6 separate regions of the Homo sapiens genome follow, and all the other regions are linked to region 6. The links are contacts of gene promoters, found by promoter capture Hi-C in blood cells and fetal thymus (Javierre and others, 2016). All regions are on one chromosome and are shown on one strand. The core of a region is centred on a gene start or on the middle of the fragment in contact, and the rest is flanking DNA. Distances in the headings are between cores, read along the strand shown. Region 1 overlaps CREBZF (CREB/ATF bZIP transcription factor). Region 2 holds the start of DLG2 (discs large MAGUK scaffold protein 2). Region 3 has its middle 7.1 kb from the start of PICALM. Region 4 overlaps DLG2 (discs large MAGUK scaffold protein 2). Region 5 overlaps SYTL2 (synaptotagmin like 2). Region 6 holds the start of PCF11 (PCF11 cleavage and polyadenylation factor subunit).

Evidence for each region. The method cuts DNA at HindIII sites, captures the fragments that hold promoters and counts their contacts. A CHiCAGO score of 5 or more calls a contact.
Region 1: a fragment that was not itself captured here is called in contact with the fragment with the promoter of PCF11 in region 6 in 5 of 17 cell types (fetal thymus, naive CD8 T cells, non-activated CD4 T cells and 2 more); the score reaches 11.1 in fetal thymus.
Region 2: the fragment with the promoter of DLG2 here is called in contact with the fragment with the promoter of PCF11 in region 6 in 2 of 17 cell types (fetal thymus and erythroblasts); the score reaches 10.9 in fetal thymus.
Region 3: a fragment that was not itself captured here is called in contact with the fragment with the promoter of PCF11 in region 6 in 1 of 17 cell types (fetal thymus); the score reaches 6.6 in fetal thymus.
Region 4: a contact is called between a fragment that was not itself captured here and the fragment with the promoter of PCF11 in region 6, in 1 of 17 cell types (M0 macrophages). The highest score is 9.3, in M0 macrophages.
Region 5: a fragment that was not itself captured here is called in contact with the fragment with the promoter of PCF11 in region 6 in 1 of 17 cell types (activated CD4 T cells); the score reaches 5.1 in activated CD4 T cells.

Annotation. Positions count from the first base shown.
Region 1 is chr11:85,657,621-85,661,580 of GRCh38, reverse strand. It overlaps CREBZF (CREB/ATF bZIP transcription factor), which reads left to right. Exons shown (of 1, transcript NM_001039618.4): 1 at 1-3,591. Among named protein-coding and RNA genes, the nearest start is that of CREBZF, 5.5 kb to the left of the region's middle. The HindIII fragment of the contact is 4,467 bases long and covers 60-3,960 here.
Region 2 is chr11:85,624,411-85,628,593 of GRCh38, reverse strand. DLG2 (discs large MAGUK scaffold protein 2) reads left to right here and starts at 1,250. Exons shown (of 28, transcript NM_001142699.3): 1 at 1,250-1,376; 2 at 1,841-2,007. It overlaps TMEM126B (transmembrane protein 126B), which reads right to left and starts at 1. Exons shown (of 5, transcript NM_018480.7): 1 at 1. RefSeq lists enhancers at 204-393, 534-583, 664-823, 696-1,204 and a silencer at 3,143-3,343. The HindIII fragment of the contact is 9,013 bases long and covers 1-4,183 here.
Region 3 is chr11:86,074,232-86,078,109 of GRCh38, reverse strand. No RefSeq gene overlaps it. Among named protein-coding and RNA genes, the nearest start is that of PICALM, 7.1 kb to the right of the region's middle. The HindIII fragment of the contact is 905 bases long and covers 2,126-3,030 here.
Region 4 is chr11:85,601,425-85,605,851 of GRCh38, reverse strand. All of the region lies in intron 2 of DLG2 (discs large MAGUK scaffold protein 2), which reads left to right. Among named protein-coding and RNA genes, the nearest start is that of DLG2, 24 kb to the left of the region's middle. The HindIII fragment of the contact is 478 bases long and covers 2,412-2,889 here.
Region 5 is chr11:85,756,158-85,760,293 of GRCh38, reverse strand. SYTL2 (synaptotagmin like 2) reads left to right here. Exons shown (of 20, transcript NM_206927.4): 2 at 2,180-2,669. The coding sequence starts at 2,569. Among named protein-coding and RNA genes, the nearest start is that of SYTL2, 53 kb to the left of the region's middle. The HindIII fragment of the contact is 947 bases long and covers 1,638-2,584 here.
Region 6 is chr11:83,154,845-83,159,300 of GRCh38, reverse strand. It overlaps PCF11 (PCF11 cleavage and polyadenylation factor subunit), which reads right to left and starts at 2,170. Exons shown (of 16, transcript NM_001346413.3): 1 at 1,670-2,170. The coding sequence starts at 1,861. RefSeq lists silencers at 1,005-1,064, 2,515-2,594 and enhancers at 1,865-2,114, 1,411-2,200, 2,265-2,314. The HindIII fragment of the contact is 1,033 bases long and covers 2,088-3,120 here.

The sequences.
Region 1 (3,960 bases), core at 1,044-3,543, 2.5 Mb before region 6:
TCAATACTTTTCCTGCATTATTTGAAATTGTGGGCTGGGGAGAAACAGTAGTCAAAGCTTTCTGAATTGAGATACTTTGAAATTCCAAGTGTAGATTTTTAGAATGTCATTTTATAAATGGCAGTTTTTGGAATTACTTGATAAGAACTTTTGAAAATGGAAGGATTAGTATGGCCTATTTTTAAAGCTGCTTTGTTAGGTTCCTTATGTTTTATTAACTGTCTTTTCTCAGTTTCCATTTCATTTTTTTTTTTCTAGTTTTGGTGACTTAGTGATTTTGTCATTTTTTACATCAACTTCATGGTCTTGTTTTTACATGGTAATTGCATGTACTTAGGATCTATCTAATAGGGGCTTTAAATAAATTTGGTCATATTTATGTGTAAGCACATTTTACTGTAAATGTTTGGGTTTCTGAATTTAAACAGATCTGTTTATTTCAGTATGTAGTAAACAATATCTTAAAGTGTCCGATTCACTACTTGTTAATTAAAAAAGTTATGATTAATGTGAAACTGTTGTCTTACTATTTTTAGAAAATTGTGTTCTGGATGATTAGCACATGGATAAAGGAGATTTCTGGAATATAAAATGGATTGTTTTTGAAATTTCTAGGTTTGGCTCTATTTACTGTAATGGTTGAAAACAATTTAGTATTTGGGTGACCCTTTTGTTTTTCTTCTAAATGTGCCTCTGGTAAAATACAGAACTAGACTAAAGATGTAGCTTTTTAATATTTGTCTTTTGATGGTGGCAGGAGTTCATACATTAATTGAACTAACACATCATATTTTGACCTACTATTTCTATCATATTGACTTACTGTTTCTGCACTTCTTTGACCAGACTTATCTTAAAAAGTCCACTTTTGTTAAAATGTAGTCACACCTCTGATATAATCCAACAAGAAGTGTTCAAAATATTTTAAATATTTGTGCATTTTATAATCACTAAATTAATCTCTCTCTCTTCTCTTTGAACAGCTTAGCAGTGTCTGCAAAAACGAATCTTTTCCTACAACCTGTTAACTGACTGGACTGTTGGTAACAAAGTAATTGTGAGAACCATGTCGGTCAAAAATTTGGCATCTGCTGAAAAAAATGAATGCCATTTTCAAGTTCCCAAATTACTTCTATACTGATTTCACTTTCCAGAAATGGAGATATGAAAAGATTCTCTGGAATCCTTGAAAGACTTAATAGAGATACATGAGACTAAGTTAATCTTGGAACAAAATTATACTTTTTTTGTCTTTCATGGGAGTGATACTCAGTTATTGCATATCTTTACAAAATTGTAACCTTTGGAGAATTACAGTATTTCATCAAGAAATTAGAGTTTTTACATAATCAAGAGCATATTCTATGGAATTAACATTTAGTGGACTAGAATTACATAAGCAGGCCATCAGTGATCACAAGGCATATGAGTTTGTATTTATTTCCTGGAACATGAGAGCTAATTTGGAGTACAGACAGACACCCTGCTGAGTAGAATATAAAAGTTAATGTAAAGTTCTGAACTATAAAGAGTAGTCCTTTTAAATAGATGCATTGATTTGTATATCTTTGAAAAAGTTGATTATGATTAAATGTGTGGGTAGTTAATTACAATTTAGGGTAACAACCAGGATGTATGGATTCTTGAGGTTTTGGCTTCTTGAGCTTTCTCTTGAGTACTTGATACTGTTTTCTGAATATTTTGAGGTTTCTAATTAATGGTATGCTAGTTTCTACTGTTTTATATAAAAATTTATCTAGTGTTGTATAAGGACTTTAGTATTGTGGATGATGGGAGTGGCTTTTTGTGGCATATGGTTGTTTTAATTGAAATATTTTTTCAGTTTATTACAAGTGTGAAAAAACACTCAAAACTCTGGATTGTTTTATTTCATTTTTGTTGGATTATGTTAATACATTCCTTCACGTGGTTTAGATTGAGTCATTTTATCTCACTTACTTGGAAATGTGCAGCTGATAGAAGAGGGATTGGGTAGGAGATTGGCTTTTACTTCATAATAAATATACAGTTGGTTATTGTATTATTCAAAACTTATTAAATCCATTCAGTTTCTTACCATTTTAAGTGTATTCAGTGCCTGTGAAGCCAGGCAGCAGAGTATTCCCACTGGCTTAAAACTTAGGCGCTGATGCTCCTACAGTACAGCTAGTTATAATTCCAGAACCAAAGGCACCAACATTATTTGGTGACCTTAACTACTACTTTGATAGAACAGACTGGGTAATTCACTGATAATGAGTCATTACCTTTTTAATATGTGATTATCTAGTTCAGCATTTTGAATGTGTAGTTTAAGGTCTGATTTAGTAAAATTTTAAAGCTAAATAATCTGATGACTCTTGAAAGTTTAATTGGTAGTATGACATTTATGTTTTTTTCCCCCAGACTCACAGCCAATACAAAGTTTTGAGACTCCTAAATGTTAATATTTTTGCTGTTTTTCTGAGCTGTTTTTTTATTTACTTACCACCTAAGCTGCGGATCAAAAAGGGAATTCTTCCATTAGAAATTTGTAGTGTTGTGTGGCCAGCACAGTATTTTTCAGATTTGAATTTCAGTACCTCTGTGTAGCCTCAGTACTCTCAACACCAGTCACTCTTTATTGTCTTAAAATATTCCATACTTTTTGTTGACCCAAAATTGTTGAAAATATTTTGCTCAGTTTTCACAATGAACTAATTGAAAAGTGTAGTTACTGTGTTGTAAACATTTGTGTAGTTCTGTTAATACACTGATTTGAATTTTATTTATCTCAACTTCCTTTAGCGTCTGCCTCCAAATTTTGTCTTTGCTGTATACCCACTGAGATCAATTCCCTAGACCCCTCTGGCTCTTAGTGTACTATAATTTGGGCTTTATAAAATATATTGTCTTAATTTAAATAGAATGTGAGCCCTCTTTTTTTTTTTTTAAGCCAAATAACTACACAAAGTAAATTATAAAAGATTTAAATAGTTTGTCTACAGTGACTAGACTGAAATATAAAAATTGATTGAGGGTAGTTTACTTCAGGTGTTAGCTACAAATGACTAAATGTCCTTAAATAATGCAGATATCTGCCCTCTGAACAAAAATTTTGGCAAAGTAAATTTGTAGCAACAGACTTAACATGATTTATTGCTTATGTTGCCCATTTCTGCTAATGGAAAAGATAATTTAAAAATATGTGGCAGAGGACAGATATTAGAAATACTTTTTGGTTACAGAAACCATTGTAAACTCATCCTCATTTATAAATGGTATTATGCTAGGGAGTAATTGGACTAGGAATGTTTAAAGATAAGTAAGGAAACAATGTGTGCTCAATCGTCAAAGAACTTAGTTATATCATTGGGCTTTGAATTATCTAAGTTGATTACATAATTCTATATTCTTAAGGAGTCTTAACTCGGTACTTGGGTTAACGCCAGAAATTACTTTTAATTCATTGTTTTTTTCACTGGGATGAGTAGAACTCTGCTTTTAGTAAAAGTGACAGAATATAGGTAAAATGGATGATTTGGGATCAGAGCTTTTCATCTTGATATTTTAGCCTGTAAAATAAACAGCTATATTGTTTTGCCCTTTAAATGTTATATATATTTTTCTGTCTTTCTTTCCCTAGTTGTAAAAGTAAAGCATATTCTTTATAGAAAACTTGGAATATCCTGAAAGGAATCAAGAAGAAAAGAAAAATCACCCTTATAACTCTATAAGCCATAGAATATCCACAGTAAACATTTTGGCATGCTTCCTTTCAGTCTCTTGTGCACATAGATTCTTTTGCCTCATAACTGGGATCATTTTTTATATAAGTTTGGTAGATAATATATTTTATGTGCCTGTTGAAAGAACAAATCATCTTTGCTTTCTGAAAAATTGAGATTGTATTTTATTAATTTCACATGAGTTTTTCATCTTTGGCAGCACAGCTTTATGTTTTTCTTTAAACAGAAGCTA
Region 2 (4,183 bases), core at 1-2,500, 2.5 Mb before region 6:
TGACTTGCCGGTGGGCGGGGACCCAGAACGCCCTGGGCGGGAAGTGGTGCTGATTTACGGCTCAACGCCTCTCGATTGCAGCCCGGGCCCGCCCCCACTCAGTCAAAAGCCGCGCCCTCCATCCTGACTGTGATTGGGCGCGGCGTCTAGAAATTACGGCCACTTATTCGCTTAGAGGAGGTCCAGGCGCCTGTGGGCCTGCCCCCCTCGCCAGCCGAGTATTTCCTTCCCTGACTATTTATCAGCTTAGCTCCCTGATCTCTTCGCGTCCTGCGGGAAAGATGGGGCGGCCCGAATGTTGTAATGTTACTGCGCTCCTGCCTCTCCTCAGGGCAGCTGGGAACTAGCTGCCTGCCCCTTTCAGTCCTTGAGGGAACTCGCCCCTTTGCCCTGGCCTGTGTGGTGTTAAAGCTCTGTTTCTCGGGCACCTCCTCCTCCAAACCCCGGACCAGCCGCCCAGCGCCGTCAGAGCAGCCCCGACTAGCCTCCTCTCCTCTCAGCCGTCTGACTCCTCTCCCCAGTCTGTAGTCCCCTCAATTTGCATCCTTTAGCCCCGCTTGGAAAGAGACCGGAGAGAAATTTGCCCACTACCCCCGCGAGAAGACCCACTTGTCAGCCGTGTCTCGGGGTGGGGGGCACTGCAAGGCCTGGCGCTGTTTTGTGCACGTTAAATGCCCAGCAGTATCTCCCAGACCGGCAACCCCCGACCCTCCAGTCTCCATGTCTTACAGAAGCCAAATTCGAGAGTTATATAATTTCTAGTGCTGCTGTTGCTCCTGCCTGAGGAAACACTTCATCGCGTGGAGGGTGCAGGACATTTCAGTGCTCTTCCCTAAAAGAACGGGGCTTGGGCAGGGGTGGCCAGCGGTGGCAAAGAAATGTCTTGTCTTTTCTGCAAAAGGAAGGTGGGTAGTTTGAAGAGAGATTGAGAGAAAAGGTGGATGTGAAAGCCAAGCAGCTGCACTTTCTCATTTAGGAAATCGCGGACCGTTTACATAGCTTATGCTTACATGTCTAATACTACTACGGCGTCTCTGAAAACACCTTTGGGGGAAGGTTTGGCTTCTCTCGAAGTCTCAGTGTTTTTCCTCGCCGGATAGGGAGCTGCTTGAATGCGAAGAGATGGCATGATGTGAATGACTCCAGTGTGAAGAAATCTGCTTCGCCAACTCATCCTGCATCAAGTGCCCATTGAGTAGCACTGTCACTTTAATGTCTCCATGCCAAGGGATTGCTTTCCTTTTTTTTCAATCCTCTCGGTTAATACATGGGAGGATCAGAATCAGAGGGGCATTAAGGATCAAGCCTGGGGGCTTGGAGAGCACAGAAGAAAAAAATGAAAGGGACAGCAAGCTGGATTCTGAGTTACTGAGGGGGTGAGATCCGGAACTTCTGATCAGTAAATATAAGGGGGCCTTTCAATGTGTGTTCTGCCACAGAAAACTGTTCAAACTCACCTATCTTTTTAGAGACTGGAGTCAAAGAGATTTTTAAAAGTATTTTTGGGGAGGTGGGGTTACATTTTTCTCTACAGATTTGAGTATCTTTATCATCATCTTTGAATTTGACCATGTATAAAGTAATGAGACCTGTCTAAATTTGGTTTGTGCCTTAATTGAGTTAGTCATTGAACTTCCAAAAATGTTGCTGCCTGAAGAGGAATTTCAGTAACGTTCTTCATGTTTACAATAATTTTCCCAGTTTGTAAAAACAGTCTAAATATTTTCTGAAAATTGAAAAACTTGAAAAACTAAAAAATTACGTTGCTGTAAACTCTGTGGGCGGTGTAAAAAGTTTAGTTGTGGAAAAAATACATCATTATTTTCTTTGTCTGACATAGAAGACTCAGCCTGGATTTCAAAACTGAACACTGAAGTGGTTTGCAACAGTTACCTGGCTCTTGGCCTCAATCCAGCTGGATCAAACTGAGACCTGAAAAGAGATATTGACTCCTGTGGCAGTGGAAAGACCCAAGAATGCCAGTCAAGAAGACAGGTGGGCCATAAGGTTGCTATATAATATTTCTCCCTTTTGTTGGTTCTGGTACTTGTAATTTAAATTATATTCCATTTGAGAGTAAAGTTTTGCTTCAGTTTGGGGGAAATATTTATTGTAATATAGTTTCAGTGGTACATAATTCAGTAATATTATTTTACTAAAGTAAAAGGAAGCAAGACTATAGTATTTATTGATAGATATTTATGATTTCATAAATCAGGTTGTTTATATCACCGTTGGTAATAAGAATAGATTCAGTACCGCAGATTTGGAGTCTCCTTTAGCTTGTTTTCTTAGCTTGTTGAAGGTTACTTTTAAGCAGTCTTTAAAAAAGAAACTTGTGCAGTGGAGCTCTTCCTCATGGGTTTAATATTTATCAAACTAATTACAGAATTGTGAAAGGTAGCAAAGTAATTTCATTTGCACTGAACAAAATTACAGCTTTATAATTTATCTTTTGGTTAAAAAATAGACTTATTATTTGGATTTATTCTAGTGTAAATCTTCACTTTTGTGATAAAGCACAACTTTCGTGACTATTGTGCTTTTCCAGATATATGCATTATCCAATAACATGATTGTCAAGTTCCCCAAATGGGGCAAACACCTGTTTTTTTCCTCCCTCCTCAACAACTTTTATTATTGGAATTGATCAAGATCTAGTGAATTCCTGAAGCATAGTTGATTATATTCTGAACTTGGGGATTCAGTTTAGCTTAGATGCACCCCAGGTTAACTTTGTTCCAAAGGATCCTAGTTTGGGACTGTTTTTGTTTTGTTTTGTTTTGACATTATATGGAAGGTGAGATCAACTGTAAAGAGTTTCTCAAGAGTTTTGAATCAAAACTTATATGAACAGCCTTGAACTCTGCTATACTGGACTAATATAGATCCAAATGTTGTCCAGTTATGTGAGTTGCTACAATCTGAAACTAAAGCTCTGGGTGAATTGCAGGTTAAAGTGGAACTTATCTCTGCATGGTGTTTAATTCTTCTACCTGTGGATTTGTTAGGGATGTTGAGGAAACTTATAATCACTGAGATGCCTTATCCAAGCTGATATTTGTAGAGATGGACAATGATATATAAAACTTTTGGAACACCTAGAACTGTGATATTTGCACACTGGGATTTAAGATTGGGATTGTTTCCTCCCCCTGCTGTTTCTAATAATACCACTGACAGAAGTAAACTGCCTGAGATTTTGGAGCCACACTTGTCCAGACCAGACACAATTGGTTTATCTAGAACAAGAATGGTTTTGGGAATGTAGCCAATAAATGATATGGCTCTTTGACATATTTAAGTTGATGTGTGTTTTTATTCTTTCTACCATTTCTCTAGAGAGTTTCTTTTGGATTACCTTATTTTGAACTAATAATGGAATTAAACACATTACGTGTGTGTGTGAGAGAGAGAGAGACAGAGAGGAAAAGAGTGAAAGGAAGAGAGAATGGGAAGGAGGAGAGACAGAGAAAGAGATAAAAAGGTATGTGGGAAGGAAGAGGAGGAAGGTCAATTGATATTCTAGGTATAACTTAACTAAGCAGGTTTAGTTAGAAAGTTTAGAACTTAATGTTTCTAAACCCCATAAACCGAGTTTCTTAAAAGTTCTTCCCTTTAAAGAACTGTTACAGAAATTGCTGATACATTGGTGAAATTATAATACTTTAGAAGAATTTCCTTTCTTTCCTTCTTCCTCTCTTCCTTTGCCTCCCTCCTTCCCTTTCTTCTTTCCTTCTTCAATAATGAATTGACTAATGGATTGAATTTTTAAAGGAATCAACAAGTTCTTATTAGAAAAACCAGTTTATATTTCTATGATACCAGAGTATATGTTGTATATTTTCCTTATAAACTGATCTAGAGAAACAATGTATCTTGCTTTTAATCTCTTAAAACTGCTAGTATTATGATACATATTCTTGAATATTATAGACAACTAGCCAAACAAGTTATGTGTATATTGTATTTTTCATTGGCTATGCTTACTATCTCTACTGTTTATATAATATAAGAACAGTATTTTTAAGTTTAACCTAGATTTATTCTGCAGGGATCACTGTCCTCTGTCACCTTGAGTCTTTTTCTCTCTTCATTGTTTCATGTGGTAGACATGACGAAAAAGCTAGACTTAATGTGATTCTAAACAATAACTATCCTCACTGAGCCAAGTGTTTATTCA
Region 3 (3,878 bases), core at 1,329-3,828, 2.9 Mb before region 6:
TAAATCTGCAATGCAACACTTCTGTTTTTTTTTTTTTTTTTTTTTTTTTTTTTGAGATGGAGTTTTGCTTTCTCACCCAGGCTGGAGTGCAGTGGTGCAATCACGGCTGACTGCAACCTCCGCCTCCCGGGTTTAAGAAATTCTTGTGCCTTAGCTTCCCAAGTAGCTAGGATTACAGGCATGCGCCACCATGCCCAGCTAATTTTTGTATTTTTATTTATTTACTTTTTTGAGACAGAGTCTCCCTTTGTCTCCCAGCTGGAGTACAGTGGTGCGATCTCAGCTCACTGCAACCTCCACCTCCCAGGTTCAAGTGATTCTCCTGCCTCAGCCTCCCAAGTAGCTGGGATTACAGGTGTGTGCCACCATGCCTGGCTAATTTTTGTATTTTTAGTAGAGATGGGGTTTCACCATGCTGGCCAGGCTGGTCTTGAACTCCTGACCTCAAGTGATCCACCTGCCTCGGCCTTTCGAAGTGCTGGAATTATAGGTGTGAGCCACCGTGCCTGGCCAACATTTCTTTACCATGTAAAATATAGCCGTAGGTTTCAGGCATTAGGACCTGCCATCTTTGGCAGGGAAGGGACATAATTTAGCCTGCCAGCTCCATACAAAGATCATGAGAAAACCTGCTGATTATAAGCAAATCTGGATTTATTAAAGTTACTAATAAGGAGAAGCATCACCATAACAAAATTTTAGTCTCAAAATGTCTCAAAAGGGGGAAGTTAGGGAAAGGTATTACTTACAGGATTTGAGAGGAGGCTGGTGTTAATCATAGGGGGGAATTTATGGTGCACGTTAGTAGCCAGTGCAGGGATTGGTTTAAATTTGTCAACTAGATGAGCTACTAGAGCATATGTGTCTGCAGAGTTACAGTTACATCAGTTCATCTGTGGTTTAACTTCTAAGTCTCTAAGCAAGTTGGTGTTAGAACAACAAGGGCTTCAATTTTGTGTTTGTGTTGCATGTCACGGAATGGTACAGTTGATTCATTTTGCAAATCATTATAGTTTTTGCTTCATTTCTCAGTCTCCTTTCTTTCAGCCAATCTTCAACCCAAGCTGGAAGAAACACCATCATTACCTGGGACGTGATCAGTCCAGATCTGCATTGCTATTTAATAAGTTGCAATGGTGTATTGAGTTTTTCATGGTAGTTATTTTGACCTCTTTATGAAACCTTCTCATCCTTTTTGTTGAATGAACATCTGTAAATTATCTAGTTTAACAGTGGATGTGCAGCAGCATTCAAGACTCTGATGATCATATATCTAGTAACTGCAATGCAGACAGACACTAAGACAAAGATGATTATAGAGTTCACAGGGTATTTCAAAGCCATAGTCCCAGGTTTTCAAAACTGGACAATGGAAGCATGTGCCATAATCCATTTAGATCTTCCTTATATAATCAAGTGTCTTTTACCCTTTAATTTGGGTAGGGTTTGTTCAACCTTACTGCTGTATGAAGAATTGGTCCCATATTTGTTAATTGTCAAATGTCTTGGGAATACCATGAGTAAAGGACAAAGGTGTTCATTAACAATCAAAGACCTTAATCCAGAAGAGGGGGAATAAGATAGCCAAGAGGATAAAGATGCAAAGCCAAAAGGATAAACATATAAAGAAGAACATGGCAATTTATGCCCCTGGGAAACCCTCGATTCCTCCAAGCAGAATTCAGTGTTCCTTTTCTCTGTTCTTTTAATACTGCATGCAACACCTCTATCATAGTACTTAACACACTGCGTTGGCATTTTGTCTAAGTCATCTCTGTATCCTGAGAATGTAGCAGAGTACTTTGCTCATAGCAAATCCTGGGTAAATATTGATTAATCTTATTTTTGGTGTGACAACTGTGTGTCAAGCATTGCACCAGTTTTTTTGTATACGTTATGTTAATCCTAACAGGAAATCTGCAAGATATTTACTATTATCCCTGCGTTATGTATTAGAAAGTGAATAACTTGCCCAGAGTTTTGAACCTAAGTTCAAGATCTAATGTGTCTGACTCCAAATTCAGTACGTCTCCCATTGCTTCAAATGAATTAATAAATCTCCTTCATTTTTCCGACAACTACTGGTCAAAACTCAATATCCCAATATTAACATTAGCATTAAGCTTCTGATTTCATTTTAGCACAATGTTGCATGTTCTAATACATTTTTACTTGATTCATCCTCTTAGGTTACAGAGAAAAATGGCCCCCAGGTATGTTAACATCTCATGTGTACTAATTTTATTCTGCTTCATAGGGAGGTTGTTTGTGTGTGTGGTGTGTGTGTGTGTGTGTGTGTGTGTGTGTGTGTGTGTGTGTTTGAGACAGAGGCTCACTCTGTTGCCCAAGCTGGAGTGCAGTGGCCCAATCTTAGCTCACTGTAACCTCAAGCTCCTGGACCCAAGCTATCCTCCTGCCTCAGCCTCCCAAGTAGCTGGTATTATAGCTGCACACCACCACATTTGGCTAATTTTTAAAATTTTTGGTGGATAAGGAGTCTCACTATGTTGCCTAGGCTGGTCTAGAACTCTTGGACTCAAGTGATCCTACCATTGAGGCCTCCCAAAGTGCCAGAATTACAGTTGAGAGCCACTGTACCATGCCTAATTAGACAGTTTTTTTATGATGATTCAGGGTCAAGGTTTGGTTAATTTTCCCTTTCAAGGGAAGGATTGTATTTAACCGCCAGTCTAGACATCATCTCTGAATAACTAAAAAAGTCCAAACATATTGTTATTTTGAAATTGTAAAAGTAATATATCTGAAAGAAAGGAAAGTGTGGCAGGAATGTGTTAAAGATAGTAAGAGAGCCTCATACTTGTTAGAGAAGCTGGAGATTACCCAGATTATTGTTTTTGTAGCCATGCTAGATGTAGCAGTTTGTATTAAAGGGCCATATGGAATTTTTATGAAAATTTTAGAAGTACATGAAATAGTTCCACGACGAACACAAGCAGTGAGAGCCCAGCTCTAAAGTTAGGTAGATCTGAGCTCCAATCCTACTTCCCCAACCTAATAGCTGAGCAAGCTTAAGCAAGTTACTTAACTTTTCCTAAGCTTTAATTTCTTTATCAGTAAAATGGAGAGAAAAGAAGTGTATTAGGTAGGGTAGCTGATCACTGTAACAAACAGCATCAAAAATCTCAGGGGCTTTATTTATTTATTTAGAGACACAGTTTTGCTCTTTCGCCCAACCTGGAGTGAAGCGACGTGATCTCTGCTCAATGCAACCTCTGCCTCCGAGGGTTCAAGCAATTCTCCTGTCTCAGCCTCCCGAGTAGCTGAGATTATAGGTGCGTGCCACCACGCTCGGCTAATTTTTGTATTTTTAGTAGGGACGGGGTTTCGCCATGTTGGCCAGGCTGGTCTCTAACTCCTGACCTCAGGTGATTCACCCGCCTCAGCCTCCCAAAGTGCTGGGATTACAGGCGTGAGCCACCGCGCCCAGCAGCATAATTTATGTTTCTGGTCATGCAGTTCTCACAGGCAGCATTCCTCCAAGGATTCATCTATGACCCCAGGCTTCTTCCATTTTGTGGTTTTGACCTTCTCTAGATTCTTTGAAGTCTTCATTCAGCCCGCAAGTAGGGAAAGAAAGAGAATGTGGAAGATTTGTAGGAGGTTTTTGAGACCTTATGGGTCAAGCCTTAAATGGCTTTCATTATTTCTGTCCACATTCTGTGGGACAGAAGTCAGTCACAAGACCCCAACTAATTGCAAAGGAGGCTGGGAAATGTGGTCTAACTATGTGCTCAGGGGGAAAAGGACACAGTTTGCTGTCTCCTCCACTTAAGGTCATGAAGTTGTTTTAGGGTGTAACTGAGATAATGTATGTAACATGCTTAGAACAGGGTAAGTAATCAACAAAGTTATGTATT
Region 4 (4,427 bases), core at 1,401-3,900, 2.4 Mb before region 6:
ACCCGCAACCATGTCCAGCTAATTTTTGCATTTTTAGTAGAGACGGGGTTTCACCATGTTGGTCAGGCTGGTCTCGATCTCCTGACCTCAGGTGATCTGCCTGCCTTGGCATCCCAAAGTGCTGGTATTACAGGCGTGAGCCACCGCTCCCAGCCGTGATAGCATTCTTATACTCTGTTTTAATCTTTCACTTTGTTGGAATTTCCTAGTTAATTATCTTTATTTTGAGACTAAAATCTCTGTGAGGGTAGACTATTGCCTATTTTGTTCAGTACTGTGTTCCCAGTGTCTGGATATAGTAAGATAGTCAATAAATACTTGATTAATGGCTGAAATAACCTTTTTCTCTATCTACCAGACTTATAAAGGTAGGACCATTTTTATTTATATGTTACAAATACAAATTAAAAGACTAAATTTGAACATTTGTGATTCAACATTTAACCCTAGATTCTAAAATTCAGTGATACGATTTATGTCTGATTGGTCAAGTTTTATTTTATTTTTTCCATAAAAATATGCTCATCTCCATTTCTGGAGGATTAAGGGTGGTATTGTGGAGAGAACACTATACTTGGAATCAAAAGCTTTTGGATTAAGCTCCAAATCTGTTATTTAGTAGCTGTGTGATCTTGGACAAGCCACTCTGAGTTTCAGTTTCATGTAAAATAGGTATGACTTCTCAGTGGTGAGAATCAGATAAGATAATGCATTTAAAAGTTCTTTTTAAACTGTAAAAATGTTGAATAGATTTATGTAAAATAATTTCACTATTCTAAATGCTTTATTTTCCAAAATTTGCCTGTTAAATTCACCTTTTCTCTATTATACTTTGATCTGAGTTTTCCTAATGATACCACTGTATGTTCTGTAATTCTTCATTTTTTAAGCCATGGCAAATGATTTTATGTATCATCATTTTCTTTTCTCTAAAAGTTCATTTGTTAGCACTATTGCCAATCACTGTTTCAAATTTAAATTACCTGTCCCAAATTATTTATAACTTTCTGGTGATGCTATTCTTAAACCATGTACAATATAGAGTTGAACCTTAATTAACAGACACATGATTACCTACAGTTCTAATTATGTAACATTCACTATCCCTTGGTTGCATATTTCATGCAAAAATTTCTTATTTTAAAAAGTGATTCTCCCTTCCCCCCCATTTCCTCCTGTGCCTGCCCTCAAGTAATCCAAATTTAGCTTTTTTTTTTTCCTGTAGACTCAGGAGTCTTATGAAGGTAGAGTTTAATGAAGAAAACAGGAGAATTGAGGCAATTTAGATGAAAAATTCTCCACTTGGTTATTTGAACATCAATTAAAATATGAATCTTGACTTGCTTGGATAATTATCTCAGCTTTCCACTTTATTCAATTTATGGAGATTAGGTTAGGGATTTTTAATTTGTATGAAAAGATCCTTGCCATTTGTCTCATTTGTTTAATTTGTCATTTTTAGATTACCTTCAAACTTTCATTAACCAGAAATAAGGATTTGAGTAGAGAGAGTTGAAGAGCATAATAGAATTGACTCCAGGTGATGATCATTCTCAATAATCAAAAGCAGCATAAAAGGGCAGCCACAATTCCAGCCCTAGATGCTGGTGTGTGAAAGCCTAACTTGGAGACTTGATTATATACGACCTTTTAAAAATATTTTAGCATTTTTTATGTGTCAAATTTTTATCCTACAGCGATGAGAGGCATAGTAAGCTCTGCTGGTTTAGAAAACATCTAGCTGTTTTGAATCAATACAGTATTTTCCCTTTATAGTTATTGGATAAATATATGCTAAATGAGTGAGTGAAATTCCCCTTACTTATCTAATTATATTTGTAGATGTGATTGTGGGAATATTGTTAATACATTTTTGAGAATTGCTCTTAATTTTACTTATTTACTTAGAGACAGGGTATTTTACTTATTTATTTAGAGACAGGGTCTCACTCTGTAGCCCAGGCTGGAGTGCAGTAGCAGGATGGTGGCCCACTGAAGCCTCGAACTCCTGGGCTTAAATGATCCTCCCATCTCAGCCTTCTGAGTAGCTGGGAGTGCAGACGTGCACCACCACACCTGGCTAATTTTAAAATTTTGTTGTAGAGAAAGGGTTTTGCTCTGTTGCCCAGGCTGGTCTCGAACTCCCGGTCTCAAGCCATCCTTCCACCTTGGCCACCCAAAGTGCTGGAATTATAGGTGTGAGCCACCGTGCCTGGCCAAGAATTGCCCTTTAAAAGAATAAACGACTAGGGTAATACCTACAACAATGCCACAGAAGCTTAAAAAAAAAGGCTTTAGTTATAATTGTATTAAAAAAAAAAAGAGAGAGAAAAGAAAAAGGTGCTCAGCACTTGTAGGTTTCCCGAAAAATGTCGGCAGACTTTAATGAGGAAATGAAAAAGACTAAAGCTTTGGGCACTAGAGGTAATCACGTGATTAGAGCCCACAGATACATATAAGTAGAGAGAGAGGTATAGTATAATTATTGTATTGTTGATCACCTACAGTGGTAAGTAAAGTAACTATTTATATTTGTAAATAGTGTGTAGGGATGGGTTAGAAAGTGAGCCACCATCATTTTGGGGAAACTGCTGATTGTTTAATTATTGACAAAATGGGGATTAAAATATTTGTCCTTGATTCAGAGTTGTTAAAACATTACGCAAGTAAAGTGTGAAATCATTTTTAAAAATTAAAGTTTATGCAAATATATTAGCACACATTTATATCACCATTCTTTGTTAATATAAATTGGAGTGAGCTCTCTGTTCATCCACATTTATTTCTATATTTCTAATCTTACTAGATAGAAGAGGAGTAGTTACGCAATGTCCTCCTCCATCTCTTATTGCCCAATTGAAATTCTCATTTCCTTCAAGGGGATAAGCTTGAAGTTTGCTATGTTATATAGGAGTATTAGGGAAGGCCTTACTACTAAGATGATATATAAGCAGAGATATGAAAGAAGTGAAGGAGCAAGCTTTATGGATACCTGAGAGAAGAGTGTTATAGGCAGAATCACAAGTATAGAGGCCATGATATAGGAGAGTTCTTGATATATTTGAGAAACAGCATACTGTGGTTGGAGTAGATTGAGCAAGAGGAGAGGTCTAAGAGCTGAAGTCAGAGAGGTGGGCCTTTGCTCTGAGTGGGATGGGGAGACACTGGAGGGTTTGAGTTGAGGAATGACATAATCTAGTTGATGACTTGAAAGGATATTTTTGGCTATTGGGTTTAGAAAAGACTGTAGGCCAGCCTGGGCAACATAGTGAGACCTCATCTCTACAAAAAAATCAGAATTCAAAAAATGATTTGGGAGGATCACTTGAGCCTGGGAGGCTGATGCTGAAATGTGCAGTGATTGCCCCACTACATTCCCATCTGGGTGACAGAGAGAGATCCTGCTTAAAAGAAAACAAAAAACAAAACAAACAAACAAAGACAGAAAGAAAAAAGAAAAAAAAGAGAAAAGACTGTAGGAGGGCAAAGGTGACAGCATGTAAACTAGTAGAACATTGCAGTAATGTAGGGGATAGATGATGATGGGTTGTGCCAGGGTGGTGGCACTGGAGGTAGGGAGAAGTGATGGGATTCTGCATATAATTTGATGTTGGAGCCCACAGGATTTACTGATGGATAGATGTAGAGAATTAGAGAAAAGAATGAATGCTGACTTCAGGAATTTGGGTCTGAATAATTGGAAGGGTGAAAGATGGAGATACATTGGAGGAGAAGCAGACTGAGGGTGGGTGGATAAGATCTGGAGTTCAGTTTTGACAAGTGAAGTTTGAGATGCTTATTAGACATCCAAATGGAAATGTTGAGCATTCAGCTGGATATGAGTCTGGAATTCAGAGTAAAGTTCTGAGCTACAGATATACATTCGGAAGTCTTGAGGGTGCTGGTAATATTTAAAACTACGGAATTAGATAAGATTATCAAGGAAACTGGGTAAGATTATCCAGGGAGTAAGATTAAAGAAGTCTTACCATGTTCAGAGGTATTCTAAACATCTTAAGCCCTCATTGAGAAATTAGAGGGAACTAATAAATGTGATTGAGAAAGGGCATCCATGAAGTGGGAAAACAATCTGGGAGAGAGTGCTGCCCTGGAAATAATGGTGTGCTGGAGACGGCTCATGTCAGCTTGCAAGAGCTTATCATTAAATTTTCAGCAAATTTGCAAGACAATACAGCCATTTCAAAAATGTTAAAGCCTGGCACGGTGGCTGACACATGTAATCCCAGTGCTTTGGGAGGCCGAGGTGGGTGGATCACAAGGTCAAGAGATCAAGACCATCCTGGCCAACGTGGTGAAACCCTGTCTGTACTAAAAATACACAAATTAGCTGGGTGTGGTTGCACACACCTGTAGTCCCAGCTACTCAGGAGGCTGAGGCAGGAGAACTGCTTGAACCCAGAAGGCGG
Region 5 (4,136 bases), core at 862-3,361, 2.6 Mb before region 6:
CCTCAGTGGCTTCCAACAACAAATACTTAGTTTTTTCTTTTATATCTATAGGTCAGCAGGGATACCTGCTTCAGGGAGGTCAGGTTCAGGTCTGTCCTTTTATCTCTTTCTGGAACCCAGGATGAAGAGGCAATGAATAACTGGGACAAGCTCTTCTCATGGCATGTGGCAGGAATACAAGAAGCCAGATCAAACCACAAAAGCACATTTACAGCCTATGCTTGCATCACATTTGCTAACATTCCATTGGCCAAAGCGAGTCACAGGCCAAGCCCAACATTAGGAGGATAGGGATGAATTCTTTGCTTACTCTGGTGGGAACATGATAGTATAGTTCTGTTACAGGGAGGAAATGAAGAGTTAGGAATAATCATTGAATCTGCTGCAACTTTAACTTGGGGTATGGAAGTTATGGAAGGCTTCATGGAGGTGGTAACTTTGATTTGTCTTGAAGGGTAAGTAGTTTTCAAGATGAACAAGCAGGTAGTAGCATATGCAAGCACATGCAAATTAAAAAGAAAATGAAGTAATGTCTTAATATTTATTTGAGTAATTACTGTGGACAGTATGCAGAGAGCTAGAGGAAATTAAAACAAAGGTCATTAGATTCCCTGTCAATGAAGCCCAAACTTCATGGGGGGAGATCAGAAAGAGACATAATACAAAAGAGAAATATATTACTAAGTATAGTCTTATTCAGCTGGATGGAAAAAAAGTGTGAACTCAGAGCGGAAGCTAGAATATAGTTTTAGTAGCTATTTTTGGTACAGAATGCAAGACATGTGCTCTTTTTATATTCATTATTTCATTTAATCCTTACAATCTGTGAGGGACATCCTAATGTCAAGCACAAATGAGAAAACAGCTTCACAGTGGTCGGTAACTTGCCCAATGACTTATAGCTAGTAAGTGGTAGAAGGATAACTTCCCAGTAATTCTGTTTTTCAAGTAATTAATTTTTATAAATTTTATTCACTAATGTACATACTGTTTTATTCTTAAGTGGGGCTGCTTTAAAATTTTTTTTTCTTTCTTTTTTTTTTTTTTTGATAAGGAGTCTCACTCTGTCACCCAGGCTGGAGTGCAGTGGTGTGATCCCGGCTCACTGCAACCTCCGCCTCCCGGGTTCAAGAGATTCTCCTGCCTCAGCCTCCTGAGTAGCTGGGATTACAGGCGTGTGTCACCACACCCAGCTAATTTTTGTATTTTTTAGTAGAGACGGGGTTTCACCATGTTGGTCAGGCTGGTCTCGAACTCCTGACCTCAGGTGATCCACCCACCTTGGCCTCCCAAAGTGCTAGGATTACAGGCATGAACCACTGCACCCAGCCTGCTTTAAAATTTACTAAAGGTTTTTAGTGTGTATGTTCAGCACTGCACTTGTTAAAAGTGCCCCAACCTTGAGTGGATCACCTCCGAATTTCTGTAGGGCTGTGTCATTCTTCACTTCTCACTTCCTTCCCATTACATATGTATTGAAGATGCCTCAAAGAAAATAGGATTCTTGCACATTGTGCAACTGAAAAATCCTCACTTTGGATGGTGAGGTGTTTTGAAACTCTGCCTCTTCCTTTCCTCCAGTTTATATACACACACAGGTAGGTGTTTTTCCCCTGAGAAATGAAAGTAGACAAGCTTGTTAGGTTCCTCTAGGTCCAGCAAAGGTTAGCAGTGAGACTGGATGAAGAATAACAATTCTCACTCTTCTGCAAACTATCTCTATCTAATACTAGTTCTCCTGTTAATATGGAGCACATATATAGTACAGTGGAATATTCTTACTTGTGAAGAGGTGAGCATTTAAAATTTTTATTTCTAGATTCTTGCTTGACCACTGGAATCACATATCCCTGATCTTACTGACCTTTAACATGACTTTTTAGCCTAGCATCCCCAGAGTTTGCAGAGAGAGAACCAGTTCATTTTTGCAACCATCCTTTACTCAGGTGGATCGTTAAACACTGACAGGCATTTTTGTGGGTTCTCCATCTTGGCCGTCTGGAATAGGGTTGAAGCATGTTTCATGACCCATTTACCATTTGCTCAGGAAGCTGGCTGAACTGGTTTCCTTGATCTCAGAGACCATCTCGCATGGCCATTTAAAAATCTTGTAGTAATGAGTAGTGCTTATAGGAACTGCCTCTCACTGTCTGGTGTTTGCTGTCTCATGATTCCCCAGGTAGGTGATGCTCTGATGCTGCTGCCTCTTATGAATTGACGACAGGTGCAGAGAGAGAATAAACTGTGTCTAAGACTGGACCAGAGAGTGAGTGTGCTGGAAGCCACCATAGGAACAAGCGACCTGTTTGGCAAGGAATACAGCATCCTTCTGAGAGCCTCTTCTCGACACTATCCCACAGACCAGGACTTCCTCATGGGAAAGAGCACTTAGGATCTTGCTATCAGCTGCCCTAAACTTTTGCTGAGCCAAAATAAGACTTTGATGCAGAACTGAACAAGATATTTCATTTTTGTGTGTTTTAATCTTCCTGGTTGCAGTCTTAGTTGTTCAGCCCTGAGAATTTTGAGCCACATTTGTTGCTATTATTTTTGCATGCACTTTTCAAAATGATTGACTTAAGCTTCCTGACTGAAGAGGAACAAGAGGCCATCATGAAGGTTTTGCAGCGGGATGCTGCTCTGAAGAGGGCCGAAGAAGAGAGAGTCAGGTAAGAGGCCAGAGAAGCCTTGGGCATGAGGGAAGGAAGAGGCAGTCTGTACGAAAATAGGACACTGGGGTTTTTTTCAACTATAAGTGGTAGTTCTGACTCGAAGACTGAATTTATGGATTCCAATTTTAGGTTTACTTCCTGGACAAAACATTTTTCCTCTTGGTGCCTCTTAATTTATCCTACTGGACTCCTACCAGAAATAGGGTCTTGATTAAAAACCTAACTAAATTCCTTTAACTTATTAAATACTGAGATAAAAATGAAATGTATACAACCACATACATCTACATTTGTGTGTGTGTGTGTATTTCTATCCACTTAAAAAAACTGGATCTACTTTTTTTTAACTGAATCATGAACCAAATTAGAATTTTAAAAAATTTTTAGAATTTTGAAAAGAAAATAAATTAAACTAGCTCACATTTCTGCATGCTTTCAGAAATGTTGGAATTGGTTTTAATGGCAACTGAAAGTATTCTCTGAGCCAATTTTTCATTTGTCTTGGGTCCCATAAAGAGGAGTGGCAACTTTGATACACTATTCTTGTTGGGTGGAACCCAAATGTTCCATGTCAACATTCCTGCCACTTTCATTCACCTTTGTTGTCAAACAAGCACTAGGCCAGGATGCTGAAGAACTTGACTTTGTCCAGGCCCTGCCATTTACTGCCTGTGTAATCTTGGGCTTTGAAGGCAGCGACAGGCTTCCTGAATGTAAGTTAGTATTATTAATTTTATGATTCTCGCTCCAGGAGTTATCCAAAAGGAGCATAAGATATGTTCTTACTTCCTGGGACACAGGACCATGAATAATGGCTTTATTTTTACCATTTCCGTATCTTGACACTGATTTAACGTGGATGATTTATAAAAGAACATGCTAGAATTCACTTCAACCACTACAGAATGTCTGATTATGACTACTAAAATAACTTCTATATAGACAGTATTTAACAAGTTGCAAAGGGCTTAACATGCCCATTATTTTTTATGAGCTCACATACTCTTTTGCGGTTGGTGGGTGGAGTGGGATATAATTACCCCATTTGATGTGTCAGGAAGTTGACTTTGAGACAAGTCAGGTGACTCGCCCAATATCACACAACTGGTAGGTGTCAGAAGTGAGAATCAAATCCCAGTCTTAGGTACTCATTTGTTAACTCCACCTCCTCTCCCTGAGAAAACAATAACAGACAGGCCATCCCAGGACCTGGCAATGGAGGAAGGGGCTGGCTGTCATGGTGTGAAGTAGGACACTGAGCTATGATGACAAGCAGTGGCTGTAGGTAGTGGGGATCATGCTGTTCCTCAAAGGTCCCTTGCAATGCACACCTGGATGGGGCTCTGCTGTGCCTTCTCCGCAAATGGTGTGCCTTAAACAGTGTCCCCAGGAGAGGTGAAGGATTGTCACTAACCCAGGCATTAGAGCCTCTTGGTAGCATTAATCCTCTACCCATTGACAGTT
Region 6 (4,456 bases), core at 921-3,420:
CAAAAACTAAGTTTTCATGTCCAAGATGTTTGTGGTATCAATAAAAAGCATGTTGAGTATGACGAATGCTTCCTTTTTAAATCTCACACTTAAAAAAAAAAGCTGTTTTACATACACTTTCACAGGAAAAAGTGAACGAAAACTTGTATCTTAGCTGTCAGACTGAGCATGATAAACTTGTTGAGGTCCTTAAAAGGAAAAAGAAAAAAAACCCTTCCTTTTCGTCCTCTTTAAATTATGAAAGGACCACCTGAAACCGTGTATCTTGTGAAGAGGTTTACCCAAAAGAGTGGATGGAACCTAAAGAAGAATGAACCCAAGTCACTTAAAGACTTTTGTTTAAAACACACAACCACGTAGATAAAAATAAGTCTTGGAAACAGATTCTACACCTTACAAAGGTAAATAAAAAAGACAAATACATATTTTATATGTTTTATTCACAAATTTTATAATACCAGTCACACATTTCAAAACCATTTATTAGAGTCAGACCACTCAAGTTTTACACTAGACAGAAACCGTCTCTAAACAATATATTGGTGGTTGTTGTTAAAGTGGCCTTTAAAAAGGGGTTCACTCTGCTAAAAGGAGGCTCATCCTGATAATTGCAATCACTAACAACTAGAAAAAACTAAACCGTGAGTACAAGCTTGAAAAATAAAATGTAGCACTGGGACGCTATTAAAACTCATTGTAACTAAGTTGAACAGTAACTTTACTTAAATGACATATCGCTCCCATATGAATCCACAGAAGAGGAGGACTACAGGGAAATATAAGGTGGCAGAGGACCACTTCTGTCAAGGGGTAAAGAAAAACACTCCTTCGCTATCAGGGAAGGGAGAAAAAGAGAAAAGGAAGAGGAGGAGGGACTGAACTTTTCAGAGAAACTGCAAGTACTTGTTACCCTCTGGGCCAGTTCTCCACCTACAGGTTGGATAAGATCTCCTCCCCCCACCCAAACCCCACCCTCAACCCCACTTGCCCCTATTTTGGGACAAATTAGACCCTCCAATAGGAGAATAAAAGTTTTATCTAGCCGCCCCCACCCCAAAATGGGGCTGACGGGAGTGAGCAGCTGCCTGGCTGGCAGGGAATGGATTCTCCTCTCTTCCCTTTCGCATCATGTGCTTTTCAGGCGCCATGTTGGGCTCCTAACAGGCGGCTGCTCCACTCGGGGCCAAATCCCTATTCCCACCCACCAACAGCTCGCTCCCAGGTCCCCCTTCACCTCCTTCCAACCCACAGAACACAATTACCAAAAAGGGTGCTTGGGGAAAATGGGAGACCCACTCTCCCACTTCCCAGGGAATTAAAATGGCTTATGTTAACTCTTACTTCCCCAAACCACAAACTGCCTTTAAGTCTCCCCCACCCCAAAGGGCTCTATTCAAAGCGTGTGTGTGTCGGGATATACAATGCGGTGGCCTAAAAAGGGAGTTGGAAAGCGGAAGTGGGACTCCACCCTTTATCCTCCCCACTCCCTCCCCCCCAGAGGCCCATGCTCGAAGCCTGGGCCAAAGACCGAGCCTGAGTTGGAGGGGGGTGGGGGGGTTGGAGAGAAGGAACACTGTCCCCCTTGGGATGGAAGCGAGACCTGGGATGAGGCTGACACTAAAATCAGGGAGTATTAGAAGTAATAGGAGGCTGCGGGGTGTATAAAAACCTTGGCGGTTTGGGCCTCGATGAGAGAGACGATCTCCTTGGCGAAGGGCAGGTTCTCCTCGGCTAGAATGGTCAGCATATTGATGTGCGGCTTGCTATTGAAGGTCAGGTCTTCGAGCGATGACTGATAATCCCGACAGGCGTCCTCCCGGGCCCCCGCAGCACCGGCCTCGGCCGGCGTCTGCTCTGACATTGCGCCGCGGCCCCCCTCCGAGGTCCGCTGCAGCTGAAGCTGAAGCCGCTCTGGATACCCCGCCTCCCTTCCGACTCCTCTTCCTCTCCCCGGCTCTCTCGCGGCTCCGGCTTCACCACATGCTGACCGCGGAGGGGGGATGGGGGACGACACAGGGGGAACCTCGGGTATGAAACGCCGCCGTCTCGCGGGTGATCTCCGTCCACTTCCAGCCGCCACAGAAGCTTCTTTCTCCACAGACACAAAATGGCGGCGGCAGTGGCGGCTCCAGCTCCGAAAATGTCTGTGTTCCCAACCGCTGCGTCGTGCGAAATGAACTAGGGGAGGGGAAATGTGCGGTAAAAGGGCGGGGCCACTGATAAAACCAGGCGTGATTGGCTGTCCCGGCAACGTCACGAGCCCCGCCCCCGGCCCTTCCGCAGGACGCCCTGGCACCGCCTTCTTCTCCGGCCTCTACCCGGACTTTCGCAACATCTACTGCTCGGAGGCGCACTGGAAAAGACGGCCCTTCTCATTGGCCGATTCATAAGGGACTGTTCGGTCATTTGTTACCATAACAACCCATTCAGGGAAGCCAATAGGCCTGGGAAGGCAGTTCCCGCGGCCCAACCCAACCACTTTGAGAAGAAGACTCAGCCGTCCCCTCTTCGTCCCTCCCTCTAGCTTCCCAGCCACTGAGCGGGCCTGTCAATCATCTTTCCTCCCGCCTGCCCCGTAGCTGCTACCGACGGTGGGGGTTGGAGGGAGCGGGGGTTGGAGGGAGCGGAGGCTTTCTGCCGCCGCACCCCCTCTCCCTTAGCGTCTCAGGTGCTCTGGAGAGCCAGGGCGGGTCCAGCTGCCCCTCTGGGAACTGGGAAGTGGGAGGGAGGTGCCCAATTTACCCGGAACTTCGGAAAGCACTGCTGGAGAGTTTCTTCCAGCACGCCGCTTCCCACACCCACAAAAATACCTAGGCGAGCTTGCCTGACTTGAATCCCCAGGAAAATGCCTTTTATTTAGAGATTAAGTGTGAAAGGCTTTTTCCTTGGGGGTTTGGAGGAGCTCTTTAAGGAGCCCACTATGAGCTCTAGGAAGAGTTTTTCACAACAGCCACACCCAGCTGGACCGTAATATCTCCACTGTGAATCTGCATTTCAGAACCTCCTTAGCATACACTATTTGGGGCACGTAGGAAAACACACACGCGCATGCACTTTTGTTTTAAACTTGTGGGGCTGTCTTCCCAGGTTGGAAATGATGCTCGTAAAACACACAAAGCTTTCAAATAGTTCACCGTGGAGCTGCGACATAACACAAACCAAACGTAATTTTTTCATTGAGTAGCGATATTGACCTAAATATAAGCTTTTAAAATGTGTCAATTACGGGCTGGGCGCGGTGGCTCACGCCTGTAATCCCAGCACTTTGGGAGGCCGAGGCGGGCGGATCACGAGATCAAGAGATCGAGACCACCCTGGCCAACATGGTGAAACCCCGTCTCTACTAAAAATACAAAAATTAGCTGGGCGTGGTGGCGTGCGCCTATAGTAGTCCCAGCTACTCGGGAGGCAGAGGCAGGAGAACCGCTTGAACCCGGGAGGTGGAGGTTGCAGTGAGCCGAGATCACGCCACTGTACTCCAGGCTGGTGACAGCGAGAGTCTGTCTCAAAAAAAAAAAAGTGTCAATTACCTAAAATTGCTTTTCCATTGCCTTCCGTAGGCTACTAGGCATTTGAGAGATAATTTGTTGCTCCCCAGAAGAAATTGCTCTTAAAAAATAAACTTAGCCGGGCATGGTGGCGGCCGCCTGTAATTCCAGCTACTTGGGAGGCTAAGGCAGGATCACTTGAACTCGGGAGGCAGAGGTTGCAGTGAGCCGAGATCGCAACACCGCACTCCAGCCTGGGCGACAGAGTGAAACTCTCTCTCAAAAAACAAACAAACAAACAAACTACTCTTTACTTGTCCCATATAAAGTAACATTTTCATTTCTTCTTTTTGTTTCTTTGAGTTTTTTAGCATCTTTATTGTTGTCTAATTGAAACATAATGAACTGCATAAAGTGTGCTGCAAAGGTTAAGTTTTGACATGTATTTTCCATTTTTTTCTTAGCATGATATCACACATGAATGAAAAGTAAAACCTGGGGAGGAAAACTGGTCTTCCCTCATTTGAAGCTAAGAAGTATTGTTAAATAAGTATTTATAATCTCAATAATTTCACACTATTGTTAGTGGTGCTATTTAGATATACTAGAAAGTTTCAACTAATAACGTCCAAAGGTTTTATTTTCTGGAGGGAAATGACCAGGGTGAAATAGTCCTCTGTTCATTTTCTTTTCATTTTAAAGGTGAATTTCATTATAGAAATGTCTGCCTTTTACAGTTTTTAACTTTCTTTTAACAGCAAAGTGAACTTCTAAAAAAAAAAAAAAAAAGGCTCCAAAGCTCTGATTTGGCTTTTATTGTATCCCTCACAGACTATATACAGAGTAAACAATTAATATATCTTAGCACATAAATCAACAAACTTATGTCCCCACAAATGACATGGAAAACTCAAGAGACTAGCAATCTTATTCAAATCATGTGCTGTACTGTAACAAGCACATTTTTT